Regions from separate parts of the Homo sapiens genome. Here all the other regions are linked to region 1. The links are contacts of gene promoters, found by promoter capture Hi-C in blood cells and fetal thymus (Javierre and others, 2016). All regions are on one chromosome and are shown on one strand. Each heading gives the region's core, a stretch centred on a gene start or on the middle of the fragment in contact. The rest is flanking DNA. Distances are from core to core; before and after follow the strand shown.

Region 1 (2,700 bases), core at 192-2,691:
GCACTGCCTTATATTTGGATTTATTTTGCTGTTGAATGTGAATATGGGATGGAAGTCCATGTCTCCAGGCTTCTATGCTGCTGCTCTAAGGACAGGCAGGCCTGATTAGTATGTGCTGCTGTTTGGCTACAGAGTTCTTTGGAGTCTGGAGAGATTTGGCCTTTAAAAATCAAACTGTCAGACCCTGTCTCAAGGAAAAAAAAAAAAACAGGATGTGAGCGCTCTCCCTCTCCCTCTCCCTCTCCCTCTCCGTCTCCCTCTCCCTCTCCCTCTCCGTCTCCCTCTCCCTCTCCCTCTCCGTCTCCCTCTCCCTCTCCCCACGGTCTCCCTCTCATGTGGAGCCGAAGCTGGACTGTACTGCTGCCATCTCGGCTCACTGCAACCTCCCTGCCTGATTCTCCTGCCTCAGCCTGCCGAGTGCCTGCGATTGCAGGCACGCACCACCACGCCTGACTGGTTTTGGTGGAGACGGGGTTTCGCTGTGTTGGCCGGGCCGGTCTCCAGCCCCTAACCGCGAGTGATCCGCCAGCCTTGGCCTCCCGAGGTGCCGGGATTGCAGACGGAGTCTCGTTCACTCAGTGCTCAATGGTGCCCAGGCTGGAGTGCAGTGGCGTGATCTCGGCTCACTACAACCTACACCTCCCAGCAACCTGCCTTGGCCTCCCAAAGTGCCGAGATTGCAGCCTCTGCCCGGCCGCCACCCCGTCTGGGAAGTGAGGAGTGTCTCCGCCTGGCCACCCATCGTCTGGGATGTGAGGAGCCCCTCTGCCTGGCTGCCCAGTCTGGAAAGTGAGGAGCGTCTCCGCCCGGCCGCCATCCCATCTAGGAAGTGAGGAGCGCCTCTTCCCAGCCGCCATCACATCTAGGAAGTGAGGAGCGTCTCTGCCCGGCCGCCCATCGTCTGAGATGTGGGGAGCGCCTCTGCCCCGCCGCCCCATCTGGGATGTGAGGAGCGCCTCTGCCCGGCCGAGACCCCGTCTGGGAGGTGAGGAGCGTCTCTGCCCGGCCGCCCCGTCTGAGAAGTGAGGAGACCCTCTGCCTGGCAACCACCCCGTCTGAGAAGTGAGGAGCCCCTCCGCCCGGCAGCCGCCCCGTCTGAGAAGTGAGGAGCCTCTCCGCCCGGCAGCCACCCCATCTGGGAAGTGAGGAGCGTCTCCGCCCAGCAGCCACCCCGTCCGGGAGGGAGGTGGGGGGGGTTAGCCCTCCGCCCGGCCAGCCGCCCCATCCGGGAGGGAGGTGGGGGGTCAGCCCCCCGCCTGGCCAGCCATGCCGTCCGGGAGGGAGGTGGGGGGGTCAGCCCCCTGCCCGGCCAGCCGCCCCGTCCAGGAGGTGAGGGGCGCCTCTGCCCGCCCCCCCCTACTGGGAAGTGAGGAGCCCCTCAGCCCGGCCAGCCACCCCGTCTGGGACGGAGATGGGGGGTCAGCCCCCCCGCCCAGCCAGCTGCCCCGTCCGGGAGGGAGGTGGGGGGGTCAGCCCCCCGCCTGGCCAGCCGCCCCGTCCGGGAGGGAGGTGGGGGGGTCAGCCCCCCGCCTGGCCAGCCGCCCCGTCCGGGAGGGAGGTGGGGGGGGTCAGCCCCCCCGCCCAGCCAGCCGCCCCGTCCGGGAGGTGAGGGGCGCCTCTGCCCGGCCGCCCCCTACTGGGAAGTGAGGAGCCCCTCTGCCTGGCCAGCCGCCCCGTCCGGGAGGGAGGTGGGGGGGTCAGCCCCCTGCCCGGCCAGCCGCCCCGTCCGGGAGGTGAGGGGCGCCTCTGCCCGGCCGCCCCTACTGGGAAGTGAGGAGCCCCTCTGCCCGGCCACCACCCCGTCTGGGAGGTGTGCCCAGCAGCTCATTGAGAACGGGCCAGGATGACAATGGCGGCTTTGTGGAATAGAAAGGCGGGAAAGGTGGGGAAAAGATTGAGAAATGGGATGGTTGCCGTGTCTGTGTAGAAAGAAGTAGACATGGGAGACTTTTCATTTTGTTCTGCACTAAGAAAGATTCTTCTGCCTTGGGATCCTGTTGATCTGTGACCTTACCCCCAACCCTGTGCTCTCTGAAACATGTGCTGTGTCCACTCAGGGTTAAATGGATTAAGGGCGGTGCAAGATGTGCTTTGTTAAACAGATGCTTGAAGGCAGCATGCTCGTTAAGAGTCATCACCAATCCCTAATCTCAAGTAATCAGGGACACAAACACTGCGGAAGGCCGCAGGGTCCTCTGCCTAGGAAAACCAGAGACCTTTGTTCACTTGTTTATCTGCTGACCTTCCCTCCACTATTGTCCCATGACCCTGCCAAATCCCCTCTGTGAGAAACACCCAAGAATTATCAATAAAAAAAAAAAAAAAAAAAAAAAAAAAATCAAACTGTCAGCTGGGCGCAAGAAACTGAGGTGGGCAGATACTTGAGCCCAGGAGTTCGAGACCAGCCTGGGCAACATGGTGAAACCCTGTCTCTACAAAAAATACAAATATTAGCTGGGTGTAATGGTGCATACCTGTAGTCCCAGCTACTCAGGAGGCTGAGGTGGGAGGATTACCTGAGCCTGGGAGGTTGAGGCTGCAGTGAGCCTTGATCACACCACTGCACTTCCAGCCTGGGTGACGGAGATCCTGTCTCAAAAAAAAAAATAATCAAACTATCATGGAAACTGCTTTATTCAAAATTTTGTTTCACAACCTTTATTGGATTACCTATCAGAACAAATAAAGTTCAACCATGTG
Region 2 (2,700 bases), core at 173-2,672, 250 kb after region 1:
GCCTGGTAACTGGTCCTCCTATGATTAAGGCAGAGAAATGTTGCCCCCTGGAATATACAGGTTGGATATAGGAGGTATGGCTCTAGATTGGTGAGTTTGCATATGAAAGGCAGGTTCTCAGCTGAGCCCTTGCTATCTCTAAGAACTGGTTAGGTCTGGTAAAGACAGTCTCTCCCCAGCCAGAATTTTTTTTTTAATGTAAAAACACCATAATATACAGAAAATAAGAAAATAAACTATCTCTCACTACTGGAACGGGCTATCTGAAACTAGGGACCTGAATGCCCTTAGAACTCCCCCAAACTCTGTATATATTTCTATGTCTCTCTATCCCTATCATATAACTTGCCTCTCTGAGTGTTATCTTTATCTCATTTATCTGGTGACTGCTTGAGACCAAAACGATAGCAGCCCCTGATCTCATAGCATCCACTATGGTCTGAACGTGTGTTTCCTCGCCAAATTTGTACACTGAAATCCTAACCCATAAGATGATGTTATTAGGAGGTGAGGCCTTTGGTAGGTGATTAAGTCATGAGAATGGAACCCTCATAAATGGATTAGTGCCGTTATAAAAGAGGCCTGAGACAGAACCCTCTTTCTTTCCTTCTGCTATGTGAGGTTGGAGTGAGAAGGCAGCTGTCTATGAGGAAGCAGGCCCTCACCAGATAGTTAATCAGCTGGCACCTTGATCTCGGACTTCCCAGTCTCCTGAACTGTGAGAAATGAATCTCTGTTGTTTATAAGCCACCCAGTCTATGGTATTTTGTTATAGCAGCTGGAATGGACTAAGACATCATCTAAACTTCGTCATCAAAGAAGAAGGGGCTCCTTTCCTTTAGTTCATATGTAAGAAATTCTAAGGAAAAATTCTGATTAATCTTATGGCCAAGGCAATGAGATTTTATGATTGGTGAGTTCCACTAGAACCATGCGGTGTCAATGTAAAAAGAGTAGTTACTTCTGAAACCATACATATATCCCCCCCCGCACCCCCCACCCGAAAAAAAAAAGGACATGTAATGGGCATCATGTTTTTTGTTCGTTTGTTTGTTTGTTTGAGACGTAGTTTTGCTCTTGTTGCCCAAGCTGGAGTTCAATGGCACGATCTCGGCTCACTGCAACCTCCACCTCCCAGTTCAAGCAATTATCCTATCTCAGCCTCTCAAGTAACTGGGATTATAGGCGCGAGCCACTACGCCTGGCTAACTTTTTGTATTTTTAGTAGAAACAAGGTTTCAGCATATTAGCTATACTGGTCTTGAACTCCTGACCTCAGGTGATCTGCCCACCTCAGCCTCCCAAAGTGCTGGGATTACAGGTGTGAGCCACCACACCCAGCCAGCATCATCTTATCTAATGAACAATGCATCATTATCAGTGCTATGGCAAAGATAAGCACACAATACTTTGCAAGTGCCTAGAAGGAATACAGAACTCAGGCAAAGGAGATCAAAAGGTTTCCTAGAGAAGATGATGCCTGAACTAAACCCTGAATGTTTTATAGAAACTAGTCAGAAAAAAAAAGGGAGAAAACGTTTTCACAGGAAGGAGGCTTTGAATATCCAGTGGTCTGAAACAATACCAATATAGGGAAAATAATTTAGTATGCCTGAACCATAGAGTACAATGATAGGAAATGGCTATATATGAGCCTCAAGAGAGAAACAACAGCCTGATTGTAAGTACTCTATTTCCGTTGTAAAGAATTTGAACTGTCTCCCAAAGATTACAGAGAATGCTGACCACTGAATGATATTAAGAAGAGAAATGACACAATGAAATATAGCTTTATTACATTTAGTCTGGCATCAGTGAGCTCTCTTTTTCCTAGAAGTGGGAAAGACAAGACTGAACACTATTTACTAATGTGTTTGAGTAATAATGTTTTGTTTGTTTGTTTGTTTGTTATTTTGAGGTGGAGTTTCACTCTTGTTGCCCAGGCTGGAGTGCAATGCCGCGATCTTGGCTCACTGCACCCTCTGCCTCCCGGGTTCAAGTGATTCTCCTGCCTCAGCCTTCTGAGTAGCTTGGATTACAGGCATGCACCACCACGCCCAGCTAATTTTGTATTCTTAGTAGAGACGGGGTTTCTCCATGTTGGTCAGGCTAGTCTCAAACTCCCGACCTCAGGTGATCTGCCCGCCTTGGCCTCCCAAAGTGCTGGGGTTACAGGCGTGAGCCACCGCGCCTGGCCCAATAGTGGTGATTTTGAAGCATATTCTCAGATTCTCCAATACTTCCTCCAGGTAGAAGTGGAGTCTGTGGCACCTTCCTTTGAATCTGAGCAGAACTTTGTGACTGCTCTGAGAAACAGAATGAGGCAGAAGTGTCCCTTTCAAATTAAAATGACTAGATTACAAGAGGCCATGTGCTTTCTGCTGACTTCTTTTGGCAAATTTGCCCAGAGAGCCCATAGGTACCATGAAAGAAGTTTAGCTAGCCTGCAGCCACTATGGGAAGAGACCCATGGTGAGATCCTATAGAGAAAGGAAGAGGTGGCTGAGGAGCGCCAATTGTTTGAGTCTTCCCAGTCCAACTACCAAAACTGCTAGTGAAGAAGCCTTCCAAGAAGATCCTATCACCAGTCACTAATTAAAACCAAAGCTGAGCCCCATTACTTCAGATTTGTGAGCAAAATAGATGATGCTATTATCTTAAGCCATTCCTTTGAGGTGGTTTGCTATATAGCAACAGATC
Region 3 (2,920 bases), core at 64-2,563, 220 kb before region 1:
TGAACATGGTTTCAGAGACATCTGTGTATATCCCAACATCAAACTGCACCAGGCAATTCACTGCATGATCTTGATCATAAAATAAGCAACTAATCTTGCCATCTCTTTTCTTTATCATTGAGATGAATTTATAATGTATATTTTATCACATGGTGAAATTCTATAGAAAATCTCTAATTTTAGTTGTGTATCAAATTTTACACTTTTTGTGAAGTTGTACCATATTGTTTAGGAACCATTTAAATAGCAAACACAGTTACAACAAGTTAGGAGAAAAATAATACCCTGAGATGAATAAATAATATTACTAATTACTTACCCAAAATATTCAGTACAATTACTATTACCAGAAGGATAATATTATTGCACATCCAACGTTAAGAACAATTCCATGGTGGTGAGAATCTACAAAATTGAATAGATTTCACTAGTAAACCCAGCAGGTAGCTCCTTAGATGGTGAGAGGTAGGAGAGGGCCAAATAAACTTTCTCACCTATCATGTTCCTGAGTTACTTTCCTTCGAAATATGTAGACCCAGCTTCTTTTTTTTTTTCCACACAAAACACACATATGCGAGTATTCTCTGGTTTGAATAAATATGAATTTTTCCTTTTGGTTTCACTGTTTATATTCCCCAGTATTGATCTTACTTATGATCACTGTCTGTGTCTCTGGGTTTTTATATAAGACTGTGAAACCCTCAAGATTCTCTAATAAGCTTATTGACAACACCCATTTATTTGAGCTGATCTTTTCTGTTTCTCCTCTTATATAATGTATCCATTTCCTGTGATATAGCATTGTAATTCCATAAAACCATACATTTAAACATAAAAGAAATGTTAGAGATTATTTTAACGCAATACCCACGTGTTAAAATGGGGATATTCAAGTTCACAGTCACACAGTTACTTGAGAGCAGAGCTGATATCTAACCTCAGGTCTCTTGACTACCAGACTAGTGCTGCCTTCGGTATCCACACTTCTCATTGCATTTGAAGTACTCAAAAGATAATAAATAAACCAAATAAAAGAAGTTGTACTTTTAGCTTTAGGCTGAAAGTTTAAAACAACAGTCTCTGGTACATAAAAGTTACAGTACATTGTTTCCACTAGATATGTGACCTAAACACACAATACACTGAGAAAGTACTGAAAATAGCTGATATTGAAATATAATCATATCAAGACTAAATGGAATGTTTATTTGGTAGATTATTATTGAGTGCATTGTTTTATGTGCTGATTATTATTGCTATTAATTAAAACATCTTTAATAGGAATTTGTTAATTTTCAAAACATTAAAAGAAGTCCACATATTTTCACTCATCAGACAAAACAGTCAAAATTGTGGGAGTCAAGTCAGTCACAGAAAGAATGTGGTGATGTCACTACACGTTTCTTTTTCTTTCTTTTTTTCTTTTCTTTTTTTTTTGGATAGGCTTTTGTTCTGTTGCCCAGGCTAGAGTGCAGTGGCATGATCACTGCTCACTGCAACCTCCACCTCCCAGGTTCAAGCAATCTTACTGCCTCAGCCTCCTGAGTAGCTGTGAATACAGGCACGTGTCACCATGCTCGTTTTTAAAATTTTTGGTAGGCATGAGGTCTCTCTGTGTTGTCCAGGCTGGTACCAATCTCATGGGCTCAAGCGATCCTCCTTCCTCGGCATCCCAAAGTGTTGGGATTACAGGCGTCAGCCATTGTGCCTGGCCACTACACATGTTACTAATATGACGAACTGAAATTATGGATCCCTAAGTTTAGTAGAATAAAATTTCAGATTTCATAAAAAGACTAACATAAAAGATATTGATCATTCTTTTAGGCCTCCTAAGTAAGATTTAAGCAAAGCATAAATTTCTGGGATATTCTCAGTTCAAACACACACTCTCACTGATGTCCTGCTAAGCTTCCTGATGACATTCCTTTATGCTTTACATCTTGGAGAACCAATGAGCATACATATATACATTCATCGTCTAATGCGATTCATTTATTTATTCAGCCATTTATAAATTATTTTACTTATCAAGCATCTATTAATTTCCTGCTCTATATTTAGTACGGTGTGAGGTGCTAGAAACACAAAGATTAATAGATTATGTAGAAAGATTCAGCATTTTATGAGGCTCTGAAATGGTAAGGAATATGACAACCTTTAGGAGAAAAGAAAAGGCCAATAGCCAGAGCAAAATCAGTGAAAGGTATGAGGTTAGAAGAGATCAGGAACAATTGTGTAGGACTCTGTATGTAAGACAACAAAAATCTAATCTATCCAACAGCTCTTTCGCTTGATGGCGAAGTGACGCATGAGAACAAAAGTTGCGTTTATCTAACACCACACGTATACAGCACAAGAACAATATGATATTTGACTTCTGGTCATAAGCATGACTATAGGTAGGTAATTTAATCTTCATATAGTTCGTTTTCTCATTTTTAGCATTCTAAGATTGAACTAGATCACATTAAAAGATGTTGCCCCACATCCCTAAACTGGGAAAAGAATAAGGTTTTATTTATAAAAGTTCAAACCATAGACAGAAAGGCAATTAAACCCTGGAATGCGGAATCAAAAATATTGGTTTTGTTGCTTAAACTGAGTAAAATAACCTCTAGAAAAAGAAACTAACTACAGGACATTTTTGAAGCATAGGGGAATGACAGTGCAGTTCTAGTCCATGTTATTTTTCAAATTATGTTTCACTATTTCATAGGAAGTGAAAGTGCCTAAGCTGGAAGAAAAGAAAGCAAGTTAGCCTCTGCTGGGTAAAATAGAGAGGTAAGGTTTAAAATAAGAAACAAGATGCTTTTACAACCAGAAAAGGACACACACTAGATTCCTTTGATAACTATAAACTTTTGAAAATATAAAGAAGAAATACATTCCTTGGAAATACGAACAAAGTAGCAGATTC
Region 4 (2,700 bases), core at 75-2,574, 210 kb before region 1:
AATTCCAAGGGCTCTAGAAAATGCAGTATCACACACAGACTTTAAAGTAAGCATGTTCAAATATTATTTCAAAAAATCAGATTTAAGTCAATACATATTTAAATTTTAAATAAATCATTTCTTAAATTTACATACCTATATAGTATTTAAAATGTAACAACATAAAATATTTTTAAAATACTAATATATTTAAAATGAACTCCTGGAAATAAAATGAATATATTAGAATTTGGACTGAAACTTGGAAAGTTTGAAAAAGGAGAAGATGGAAACTCTAGAACTAAAATCCACAGTAACTAAAATTAATTTCACAGAAGAAATAATTCTTAATCTAATAATATCTATTCTCAGCATCTCCCCCCAAAACAACCAGTCAACCTAACAAGTAAACAAAGCTAGAACAAACATTACAGTTAATGGTAGCATATTAAAAACTTTGCCTTTGACATTGGGAACAAGACAAGGTACTCACTGTTATCATTTCCACTTAACATCATTGTTCACGATGTTAACAGATACAATATGATTTTTAGGTTATAAAACTTTGGAAAGAAAAATACAGCACACATTTACCATGGATATGATTCTGTTTATAGAAAATCCAAGAAAATCTATCGATAAATTATTAGAAGTAATAAAGGAGTTTATAAGGCAGCTGGATACAAATTCAATATAAAAGAATCAATTGTATTTCTGTTTCTCAGAAACAAACTGAAAATAAAAATTTTTAAAGATACTATTTTTTTATATTGCTGCTGTAACAAATTACCACAAATTTAGCAGCTTAAAACGGCACATGATTATCTTGCGGTTTCTATAGCTCAGAAGTCCAGGCACAGTTGGTTTTCTGTTTAGGGTCCTATAAGGCCAAATTCGAGGACCTGGTTGTTTTCTGGAAGCTCTGGGGAAAAATCTGCTTTTAAGCTTGAAATAGTTTGGATGTTTGTCCTCTCCAAATCTCATGTTGAAATGTAATCCCAGTGTTGGAGAGGAGCCTTGGGGGATGTCTTTGGATCATGGGGAAGATCCCTCATGATGGCTTAGTGCTATCCCCTTGGTAATAAATGAGATCTCACTGTGAGTTCAGGCAAGATCTGGTGAGAGCATGTGGCACTTTCCCCCCGGCTCTCTTCACATGGTGGCTCCGCATTGCCATAATTGTAAGGTTCCTGAGGCCTCACCAAGAGCAAGTGCTAGAGTCATGACTGTGCAGCCTGCAGAACCATGAACCAATTAAACCTCTTTTCTTTATGAATTACCCATCCTCAGGTCTTCCTTCCTTCCCTCCCTTTCTTCCTCCTTTTTTCCCTGCCTCCCTCCTTTCCTTCCTTCCTTCCTTCCTTCCTTCCTTCCTTCCTTCCTTCCTTCCTTCCTTCTCTTCCTTCTTTTTCTTTCTTTCTTCTTTTTTACAGCATCCTCACTCTGTTGCCCTGGCTCTAGTGCAGTGGCAATCCCAGTCCACTGCAACCTCTACCTCCCAGGCTCAGGTGGTCCTTCCACCTCAAACTCCTATGTATCTGGGATGATAGGCACATGCCACCATGCCCGGCTAATTTTTGTATTTTTAGTAGAGACTGGGTTTCATCATGTTGTCCAGGCTGGTCTCGAACTCCTGAGCTCAAGGGATCCACCCACCTCGGCCTCCCAAAGTCCTGGGATAACAGGCATGATACACTGCACCTGGACAGGGAATTCTTTATAGCAATGCAAAAAAAGTGTAATACAAAGCTTCTTCAGGTTGTTAGCAAAACCAGTTTATTCGACTATAGTGCTGAAGTTTCCTTTTCTTCTTGGCTGAGGACTGAGAGCCTCTCTTAGCTTCTTAAGATCAACAGTCATTGTATTATTGATTTGTTGTCTAGGTACATGATAGATGATAGATAGATAGATAGATGATTGATAGATAGATAGATAGATAGATAGATAGATAGATAGATAGATAGATGATGGGGGTGGGGAGAGACAGATTCCTTTATCAATTATACGTGTTAGAATGTCTTCCACTCTGTGACGACTTGTCATTCTGTCCATGATGTCTTTTGAAAACTAGAAATCTGTAATTTTAAGTTTATAATGTGCAGATTTTTGTTTGTTGGTTTCAAGTTATTGGTAAGTATATGTAAAATAAGGAGAAAATAATGTGAACTTCAGGTCTCAGAACCTAGAAATTTGGAAGCAAGTCAACTTATGGTAATGTAGTTCTTTAGCATAGACGAAACACTTTTACATGCATTATTTTAATTACATTTTAAATTTGGCATTACAAATATTGAGAAATATGAATGGGGTGCAGCATTATCAAAGGTTAAGTTTTACTTTTCTAGATTATGCCATTTCCTTTATAACTAGAAAAAATACAAAATGTAGTGTTGAGAGAGTGGTGACTGCCACATCTTTCCACAAAAGAAACCAAGAATCATCATCCACACACACACAAGCCACTTGAGTGTAAAAAATAACCAAGATATATTTTAAAAATTTATTGTAAATTGACAAATTATAATTGTATCTATTTGTGGGGTATAATGTAGTGTTATTTGTACACAATGTGGAATGATTCAGTCAAGCTAATTACCATATCAATCACCATCAAATACTTATAATTTTTCATTGTGAGAACATTTGAAATTTATTTGCTTCGCGATTTTGAAATGTGCAATATATTATTGTTAATTATAGCCAGCAAGAAATTATTTTTTA
Region 5 (2,845 bases), core at 318-2,817, 220 kb after region 1:
TGGATTGCAATGGCATGATCTCGGCTCACTGCAACCTCCGCCTCCTGGGTTCAAGCAATTCTCCTGCCTCAGCCTCCTGAGTAGCTGGGATTACAGGTGCCCGCCACCCCTCCCGGCTAATTGTTTTGTATTTTCAGTAGAGACAGGGTTTCACCATGTTGGCCAGGCTGGTCTTGAACTCCTGTCCTCAAGTGATCCGCCTGCCTCAGCCTCCCACAGTGCTGGGATTACAAGCGTGAGCCACCGTGCTGGCCTTCTGTGTCTTCTTGACTGGGTCATGGGGTTCCCAGACAGGATGCTTTTAAATGAGATTAACATATTAATCAGAAGAGGAAAGTAGATTTCGCTGCATAATGTAGGTGGGCCTCATCCAAAAGTTGAAGGCCTAAAGAACAAAAAGCTTCTAACCTTCCCCCAAATAAGAAAGAATCCCCCAGCTGTCTATGGACTGGAACTCAGCCATCAACTCTCCCAGTTCTCCACTCGCTGGCCGAGTCTGGCAGCCCACACTCCAGATTTTAAATTACCAGGCTCTATAATCATACAAGCCAATTCCTTATAATAAACCTATTTCTATGTATGTACACAGCGTATTGATCCTCTTTCTCTGCACAGACCTAATACAAATCCCAATTCCTTTCTCCTTTCTTGGAAACCACCGTTCCATTTTTTTGTTTCTATAAATTGGTTTATTTTAGGCACCTCATACTGGTGGAATCATATAATATTTGTCCTTTTGTATCTAAATTATTTTATTTAGCATTATGTCTTCAACAATTATCAATGTGGTAGCATGTGTCAGAATTTTGTTCCTTTTAAAGTCTGTATAATATTCCATTGTATGTATAAACCACATTCTACATTTTATTTATCCATTGATGGACGTTTGGGTTTATCCTGTTTTTAAAGATCAGTGGGATAGTTTCTACAGTCCTTGTGTGGCAGATAACTGGACAGATTTGAAAAATTTTAGAGGGCTCTCATTATTCCTGCCTCCTGGTGTTCATGATCTTGTGTAATCCTTCCCCTTGAGTGTGAGTGAGACCTATGACTTGGAGTGTAGCAGAGGTGCTGGAATGTATGTGATCATCTACGTGTGCTTATGTAAGGTATAGTGACTATTATGCTAAAGTCACTCTCCCTCTCCTATTTCCATCTTTATCTCCCTGTCTAGATTTTTAAAAGCAAGCTTAAATGGATCCTGCAGCCATAGAGAAATAAATTCTGCCTGAGGGAGCTTGCAAGTGAATCTTCCCAGGCTCACCTGAGAATGCATGATGAGAGTGCAACCCAGCAGCCACCTTGACTGCAGCCTTGTGAGACATCAAGCAGAGGACCCAACTAAGTTGTGCCCACACTTCTGACTCACAGATACTTTGAAATAATAAAAGTACATTGTTTTACCTTGCTGCTCACATAATTTGTGGTGATGTGTTACACAGCATATCAACCTAAAACATTCTATGATAAACTGAATCCTTCTGTCTTGTTTAACTTTTTTAACTCTAATCTTTTTACTGATTTCAGTGCCTTTGAAGCTGTCACTCAATCCCTATGCTGTGATCTTGGCTTATCAGACAGAAACACTTCCCAAGGGATCTCCCAAGGGTTGCAAAGATGAAACTTCTTCTGCTATATTATTTATTTTTGAAATCAGGGCTGTGGCCCTACCCACTGACTTATAGTTTGAGGTTGATGCCTCAGAGTCCTGGCCTCTATTTTATTGAGGCACAGAGAGGAAAGAAATCCATAGTTGGCCACCTGACTTAGGCAAGGTCAAAAGGAGAATGATCAGTGGAACCAGAAGTAAGCAATTTGTTTGGCTACACTTGTTACACCAGTTGTATAACAATTCCCTGAAGCATAGGTGTAAAACTCTATGTACATGCACCCTCTACTGGTTCCACTCCAAGTCCTTAACTACCTGGACATAAGCTAATGATTCACAAGCTTAATGGAACTGCACAAGATTGTATAGGATTGTAATGAGACCATTTCCCTCTATCCCAGCTACCTGCCCTTCTGTACCTGTCCAAAGTGTACTTCGTTCAGTCTTCTTGTCTGAATTATCTTTCTTCTTTCATCATTCCCTATATGGAGGCTTGGTTAGGGACAGGATTCAGAGTTAAAGCTGCCCCAAGGCATAATCTCATTCATTAGGATAAAAACAAACTTTTATCTTTCCAGGGACTAATCTGGTGAGAAAAAAAAAAAGGGTAGTAATAATTCTAAGAAAGGAAAGTCACAAGGAGGTCATTAACAGAACCTATTTTGTTCAAACCTGTTTGGAAGCTGGAGGGCAAAAAGATGATGGCAATTACGTGTTAGAAAAGTGCAATGCGAGCGGGGAGTCATGTTAACCAGCAAACCTGTTTAGGCAGGTGAAGGCTGGCGTGGTTGGGAGAAAAGGTGGCCAGGCTAGCAAGGAAAAATATTCAAGAATTAGAATATCAGGAGACTAAAATGTGGTCTGGAGAGGGAATGGTATAAAAATATACAAGAGAAGCATAAAGGACAGTAATTATCCAGAATCTTGAAAGTAAAGGTCACTGGTAAACTTTAGTGAAAATCAAAATAATCTTAGCAAACACAAAAAATATCAGGACTGTTATATTCATTTTACACACATTAACTTATTTAATCTGTATAAGGCTATCAAGTAAATATTACTACTATTACCCCCATTTTATATAAAATGAAAATGAGCCAATAGAGGTCTAATAACCTGCTCCAAGATCACACAGCTCATAAGTGACAAAACCAAGTATTTAAACCCAGGTATCCTGGCTAGGCTTTAGGTCTTGGTGCTCTACTGTCTTTCTGTCAAGAAAAAGAGAAGGGAAAG
Region 6 (2,872 bases), core at 21-2,520, 200 kb after region 1:
GAAATAATCCCATGAATATACAGACAACTGATTGGTGATAAAGGTGCAAAAGCAATTTAGTAAAGAAAAATAGTCTTTTCGACAAATTTACATTTGTCGAATTAATCCCAAATAAATCATAGACCTCAGTATAAAACCTGAAGCTATAAAATGTCTAGAAAAAAATAAAGGAGAAAATTTTTGTGACCTTGAGTTAGTCAATGAGTTCTTACAAACCACAGCAGAATAATAAAAATGGACTTCATTAAAATAAAAAACTTCTGCTTTATGAGTATATTGTTCAAAGAATGAAAAGACAGGCTGGGCGGTGGCTCACACCTGTAATCCTAGTACTTCGGGAGGCCAAGGCAGGCAGATCACTTGAGGTCAGGAGTTCAAAACCAGCCTGGCCAACATGGTGAAACCCCATCTCTACTAAAAATACAAAAACTTAGCCAGGCATGGTGGTGGGCACCTGTAATCCCAGCTACTTGGGAGGCTGAGGCAGGAGAATCACTTGAACCTGGGAGGCGGAAGTTGCAGTAAGCTGGGATTGCACTACTCCAGCCTGGGCAACAGAGTGAGACTCCCTCTCAAAAAAAAAAAAAAAAAGACAAGACAAGAAAAACATTTCAAGATGCATATCTGATAAAAGGTTTTTATCCCAAATATATAAAGTTCTCAAACTCAACAGTAAGAAAAATAAACCAAGTAAAAATTCTCAAAAGATTTATACAGTTACTTTATCAAAGTTACCTAATACAGATGGTAAATAAGCTTATAAAAATTTGCCTGGGGCGGTGGCTCACGCCTGTAATCCCAGCACTTTCAGAAGCTGAGGTGGGTGGATCACCTGAGGTCAGGAGTCTGAGAACAGTCTGGCCGACATGGTGAAACCCCGTCTCTGCTAAAAATACAAAAATTAGCTGGAAGTGGTAGCGGGCGCCGGTAATCCCAGCTACTTGGGAGGCTGAGGCAGGAGAATTGCTTGAACCCAGGAGGCGGAGGTTGCAGTGAGCTGAGATTGTGCCACTGAACTCCAGCCTGAGCAACAAGAGCGAAACTCTGTCTCAAAAACAAACCAACAAACAGAAATTTGTAGGATACACAGATTAAAACTATGAGGATATACCATTCGATATCTACTAGAATCATTAAAACTATAAGACGAACCATATGAAATTCTGGCATGGATGAGATGGAACTGGAGCACTCATACACTGCTGGTAGGAATGAAAAATGGTACAACTTTGGAAAAGAGTTTGTCAGTTTCCTAAATAGTTAATCATACACCTACTGTGTGATCCAGACGTTATACTCCTAAGTATTTAACCAAGAGAAAAGAAATCCTATGTTCATACAGACTTGTACACAAATGTTCACAGCAGCTTTATTTGTAATATCCCAAAACTAAAACAACCCAAATGTCATCAACAAGTAAATGGGTAAATGAATTGTGGTATATCCATACAAGGGAATATTCAACATTTAAAAGAATGAATTCATACGAGCATCAAGATGGAGACATATGAATCTCAAAATAATTATGCAAAGTGAAAGAAGCCAGACAAAAAAAAAAGACATACTATATGATTCCATTCACATAAAACTACAAAATGCAAAATGAAAGCCGATTGGTGGTTTTCTGGGGAGGAGTCATCAGGAGGAGCATTGTGACACTTTGAGGGATGATGGATATGTTCACTCTCTTAATTGTAGTATGCATGTTCTCCACAAGGTGTGAAAACTTATCAAATAGTACACTTTAAATATGTTCAGTTTATTTTATGTTAATTATATCTCAATAAAGCTTTTAACAAAAGCAAACATCTCTTGCCTACATAAGGATGACACAGCTCTTAAAAAAAAAAAAAGATTCCTGCTAGATTGTGTGCAGCAAAATAAAAAGGCTTCCTTTAAAGTAGAATAGCCTGTGAAGAGTGGGTGGAAAGGAAATAGAAGCCTAAAAATAGAAGATATATTTCTAATTCCATCTGTTTCTATTCAGCGATATTTGCATACCTGGCTTAGTTTGTTCTAGATTGAGTGTCTTCATTTTTTTTGTCTTGTATGTTTCGGAATTATAGCATAGCAAAACAGAGTTGAGAAGAGTTCATCTACAAAAGGTATGTTCTTTAGGGAAAGAAATTCTATTCTTACCTCTGGGCCACACATCCCATGATTCTAACAAGAACTGTTGTGAAGGGTTAAATCTATTAATCTGTCCTCTGGTAGAAAAAAAAATGAAGAAATAATAACTGATTCAGGAAGTGGTAACAGGTTGTGGATTAGCTTACAGAAAAGACCACTCACTTACTAATTACTTTCTTGGGCTCCCCACTTGTCCCAAAATGTGTGTGTGTGTGTGTGTGTGTGTCTGTCTGTCTGTCTGTCCGTAAGTGGTAGAGTCTGGAGATGGACCACAGTTTAAAAACCAAGGATTGATACCTTTTTTAAAGTTAAGAACATGAGTTTCTTGATTTCGGAATGGCCTCTGTCCTTCTTTGTTTCTTCACGTGCACTTTTTCCCAGACATATTTCCCCTTTTTGCTCTCTGCCTGCACTTGAGCAAGTTCTCCATGTTCTGTCTTTCATGCAATTTTAGGAGTGTGAGGGGAAGGTGATAATGAGGTAAAGAAGACTGAGTTCAGAGGGTTTTCAAGCTTGAAGAGGAGTCAAATTTTAAAATAAAAAGGGGAAAATGGACTTCAGGCTGGCAGGGAAGCTTGGGACAAGCTAGGTGAAATAATACAGGTAGCTAGAATCAAAAATGTTGACATAAAGGTGCCAGGCTCCTGGAACCCCAGTTTCTGCAAAGGAGTTCTGCAGCCAGCTAAATGACAGTTTTCTGGGCTCTCATGTTTGGCACCCAAGTGACAAAGAATAGCTTAAA
Region 7 (2,842 bases), core at 212-2,711, 160 kb before region 1:
TTTATACCAGTACCATGCTGTTTTGTTTATGATAGCCTTGTAGTATAATTTGAAGTCAGGTAATGTGATGCCTCCAGATTTGTTCTTTTTACTTAGGATTGCTTTGGCTATTCAGGCTCTTTTTTTGGTTCCATATGAATTTTAGAATTGTTTTCTGTAGTTCTGTGAAAAATGATGTTGATATTTTCATGGGAATTGCATTGAATCAGTAGATTGCTTTGGGCAGTGTGGTCATTTTCATGATATTGATGATCATATTATTATAGAAATTATTAAGAAATTATTTCAGGCAGATAGGATAAGTGGTCCTTGGTAAGGTTTTTTTCTTTAAATAAAAGCAGCTCCAGAAACATTTCTTTTTTAGCAAAAAAATGGCTTGAAGGGCCAAGCCAGCAAGCTTTGATATGCAAATGCTGGCTATTAGAAGCTGGGTCCATCCAATATGGCAAGTCCCACCTTCTTCTCCTTGTCACCACATGTGCCAAGCATCATGGCACCCCCAGAGGTCTCCACTGTGCAGAAAATCATGGCGGCCTGCATTTGCATATTAAAAGACTAGGGTGGGAGAGCCAGTTTTTTTGCAGGCTATGTGAATGACATACTAAGTCAAACCAATCCCCTGGGCCTATAAAAATCAGACACCACCTCCTCCAGCCTTCTAATATAACAGATTGTTTCCACCATACTTGGGGTTTCCTCTCTCTGCTTGGAGCCACCCCCACCCCTCACCGACCCCCCGTCTCTGTAGCTGGGAGCTTCTTCTTTCTTTCTTGCCTATTAAACTCTCTGTTCCTTAAAACCACTCCATGTGTGTCCATGTTGTCTTATCTAAATTGGCGTGAGACAAAGGACTCTGGTGTTCCTCCATTCATTGAAGCTGTATCAATATTTTGTATCATTTCAATGAACTACTATAGGCAGCCCATCCCTTAAGTTTCCCTCTTAAGTTTTTTGGTCAGCTTTTCCTTTGCCCCAGCTGTTATTCCATATTAAGCAGCTGCAATGTACAGCAATAGGTGCTGATTGTTTTTGTCAAATACCCCTAGGGAAAAAGTCATTTGCACTGAGCGAGCTCTGTTTGAGATCAACTAAAGTCGTAGGTGGGAATTTCCAAGATCATGTTTGATAGTTTGAATAATGACAGTACTCTAAGAATAATTTTTGGGACTTCTAAACCCTTTATGGCCCCTCTGAGACCTGTTGGGCTACAGTTCACTACTGCTACTATAGTTGTAAGACCTACTATAGTTTTTCAAGGCTACTGTGAAGCTGAGGAATACGGAATAGGAATAGAGCAAGTTAAATCTCCACAAAGGTCACTGTTTTCAATTAAATTCACCTATTTTCTTGAGTAAATGCTTGCCAGATTTTTGCAAGTCTTTGGTTAATTCACAGTATTCTGAGGAAGTTTGTTTTGACAGTTTTTGTCAATGTTCTTGTTGATTTTATGAAGGAATAGCTTTTTGTAGGTCTTTATTCCACTGTTTCTGCTCATGTCTGGCAAGACAATTAAGCAGGTAATTATGAGGGCATGTAGAACACATCTTGGAGAATTTATTCTCAAGGTGGCATTCTATAAAATTATGTAAATATTTAATCTGAGAAGTGAAAGATGAGACAGTTTTCCAGGTGAATAAGGCAGAGGAAAAACAACAACAACAACAACTTTGTAGACAAGGGTAAAATGTACAAGTCTTAGAGATGGGAGAAAGAATGGTCCACTACAGTGAGACTGAAGAATGGAACAAGAGACAAAGCCAGATTACAGGGTGAAATCAATGCTGTTAAATAGTCTGGAATTATTCTAAGTGCAGAAAGAAAGTAATAAATTCTTATAAATTTGGGACAAATTGCAATTAGATATTAATTTTTGGAAGTTAACAGGTGCAATTTTTGGAAGTTACTCAGTCTAACAGGTGCAAGATGAACTGGAATAAAGGGATACCATAGAGAGATGACTGCCTTTAAGACCAATGCAGTGGAAGTAGAGATGATGGAAAGTTGTTGAATTAAAGACATTACTAGTCATTACAGTCTATGATTTATTAGGTAGGGTCATTTAATCAGAAAAAAATGCAGACAGAGAGTCAAGGATGGCCTTCATGCTTTGATTCCTAAAACTGTGGGCAGTATTCTTTCAAATGAGTCAGAAATTAGGGGGTAAAATTAGATTTAGAAAAGAATCAAAATGATCACTTTTGTTTCTGGAATATGTGGGAGATTGAGTTGGATATTTTAATGGACTTTTGGATATATGCTGCTAGCCCTAAGCAAAGGAGTCTGATCAGGAAAATTTATCTATCTATCTATCTATCTATCTATCTATCTATCTATCTATCCATCTATCTATCTATCTATCTGCATATATGTGTGTATATATGTATATATATGTGTGTGTGTGTGTGTATATATATATATATGTCTTCCTTATCTTTTGATTTAAAAACTGGTTTTCCATTTACAATGGGTGCAATGGTGTGTCTCCACTTTGGACTGAAGCCTCATTGTCTCAGCACCTGGGAGTCAGAAGCTTTCAACTGAATCTTCCTTGTATGGCTCTCAGCTAAACAGAAGTGCCTTCTCAAAGTCACACTTTCTCCCAGTGCCAGATGTATCAAACGGCTGGTTCGTGTGGGAGTATAAAAGCTTGGACTTGTTGCCTTATATCAAGATAAACTTGAAAGGGCACTCACCTCCAGAGCTCCCTATACTGTTAGCTGAAGCCTTTGTGTTACTGCATCACAATTCAATATCTGCCTTTGCCCAATCCTTTCTTTCTCATCCACAGGTACTTAACATCCTTTATGTAATCCTTCATCTGAGAGTCTGTTTTTGAGGAACC

What was found. Contacts are between HindIII fragments. The CHiCAGO score rates a contact against its expected background, and 5 or more counts as called.
Region 2: a contact is called between a fragment that was not itself captured here and the fragment with the promoter of CLEC12A-AS1 in region 1, in 2 of 17 cell types (neutrophils and monocytes). The highest score is 8.1, in neutrophils.
Region 3: a contact is called between a fragment that was not itself captured here and the fragment with the promoter of CLEC12A-AS1 in region 1, in 2 of 17 cell types (neutrophils and monocytes). The highest score is 8.2, in neutrophils.
Region 4: a contact is called between a fragment that was not itself captured here and the fragment with the promoter of CLEC12A-AS1 in region 1, in 3 of 17 cell types (neutrophils, monocytes and activated CD4 T cells). The highest score is 9.6, in neutrophils.
Region 5: a fragment that was not itself captured here is called in contact with the fragment with the promoter of CLEC12A-AS1 in region 1 in 2 of 17 cell types (monocytes and neutrophils); the score reaches 6.1 in monocytes.
Region 6: a contact is called between a fragment that was not itself captured here and the fragment with the promoter of CLEC12A-AS1 in region 1, in 1 of 17 cell types (neutrophils). The highest score is 5.3, in neutrophils.
Region 7: a fragment that was not itself captured here is called in contact with the fragment with the promoter of CLEC12A-AS1 in region 1 in 1 of 17 cell types (neutrophils); the score reaches 6.5 in neutrophils.

What each region holds. Positions count from the first base shown.
Region 1 is chr12:9,951,896-9,954,595 of GRCh38, forward strand. It overlaps CLEC12A-AS1 (CLEC12A antisense RNA 1), which reads right to left and starts at 1,442. Exons shown (of 3, transcript NR_135047.1): 1 at 655-1,442; 2 at 1-184. LOC124902874 (a long non-coding RNA gene) reads left to right here. Exons shown (of 2, transcript XR_007063207.1): 1 at 1-1,142. It also overlaps a transcript of CLEC12A not described here. The HindIII fragment of the contact is 17,088 bases long and covers 1-2,700 here.
Region 2 is chr12:10,205,662-10,208,361 of GRCh38, forward strand. No RefSeq gene overlaps it. Among named protein-coding and RNA genes, the nearest start is that of GABARAPL1, 5.9 kb to the right of the region's middle. The HindIII fragment of the contact is 3,050 bases long and covers 1-2,700 here.
Region 3 is chr12:9,729,272-9,732,191 of GRCh38, forward strand. All of the region lies in intron 1 of CLECL1 (C-type lectin like 1), which reads right to left. Among named protein-coding and RNA genes, the nearest start is that of CLECL1, 2.4 kb to the right of the region's middle. RefSeq lists a silencer at 1,559-1,618. The HindIII fragment of the contact is 1,192 bases long and covers 718-1,909 here.
Region 4 is chr12:9,746,097-9,748,796 of GRCh38, forward strand. No RefSeq gene overlaps it. Among named protein-coding and RNA genes, the nearest start is that of CD69, 13 kb to the right of the region's middle. The HindIII fragment of the contact is 804 bases long and covers 923-1,726 here.
Region 5 is chr12:10,174,108-10,176,952 of GRCh38, forward strand. It overlaps a transcript of OLR1 not described here and a transcript of TMEM52B not described here. Among named protein-coding and RNA genes, the nearest start is that of OLR1, 3.4 kb to the left of the region's middle. The HindIII fragment of the contact is 761 bases long and covers 1,188-1,948 here.
Region 6 is chr12:10,156,957-10,159,828 of GRCh38, forward strand. OLR1 (oxidized low density lipoprotein receptor 1) reads right to left here. Exons shown (of 6, transcript NM_002543.4): 6 at 1,345-2,872. Among named protein-coding and RNA genes, the nearest start is that of OLR1, 14 kb to the right of the region's middle. The HindIII fragment of the contact is 1,033 bases long and covers 755-1,787 here.
Region 7 is chr12:9,790,035-9,792,876 of GRCh38, forward strand. No RefSeq gene overlaps it. Among named protein-coding and RNA genes, the nearest start is that of CD69, 31 kb to the left of the region's middle. The HindIII fragment of the contact is 2,133 bases long and covers 396-2,528 here.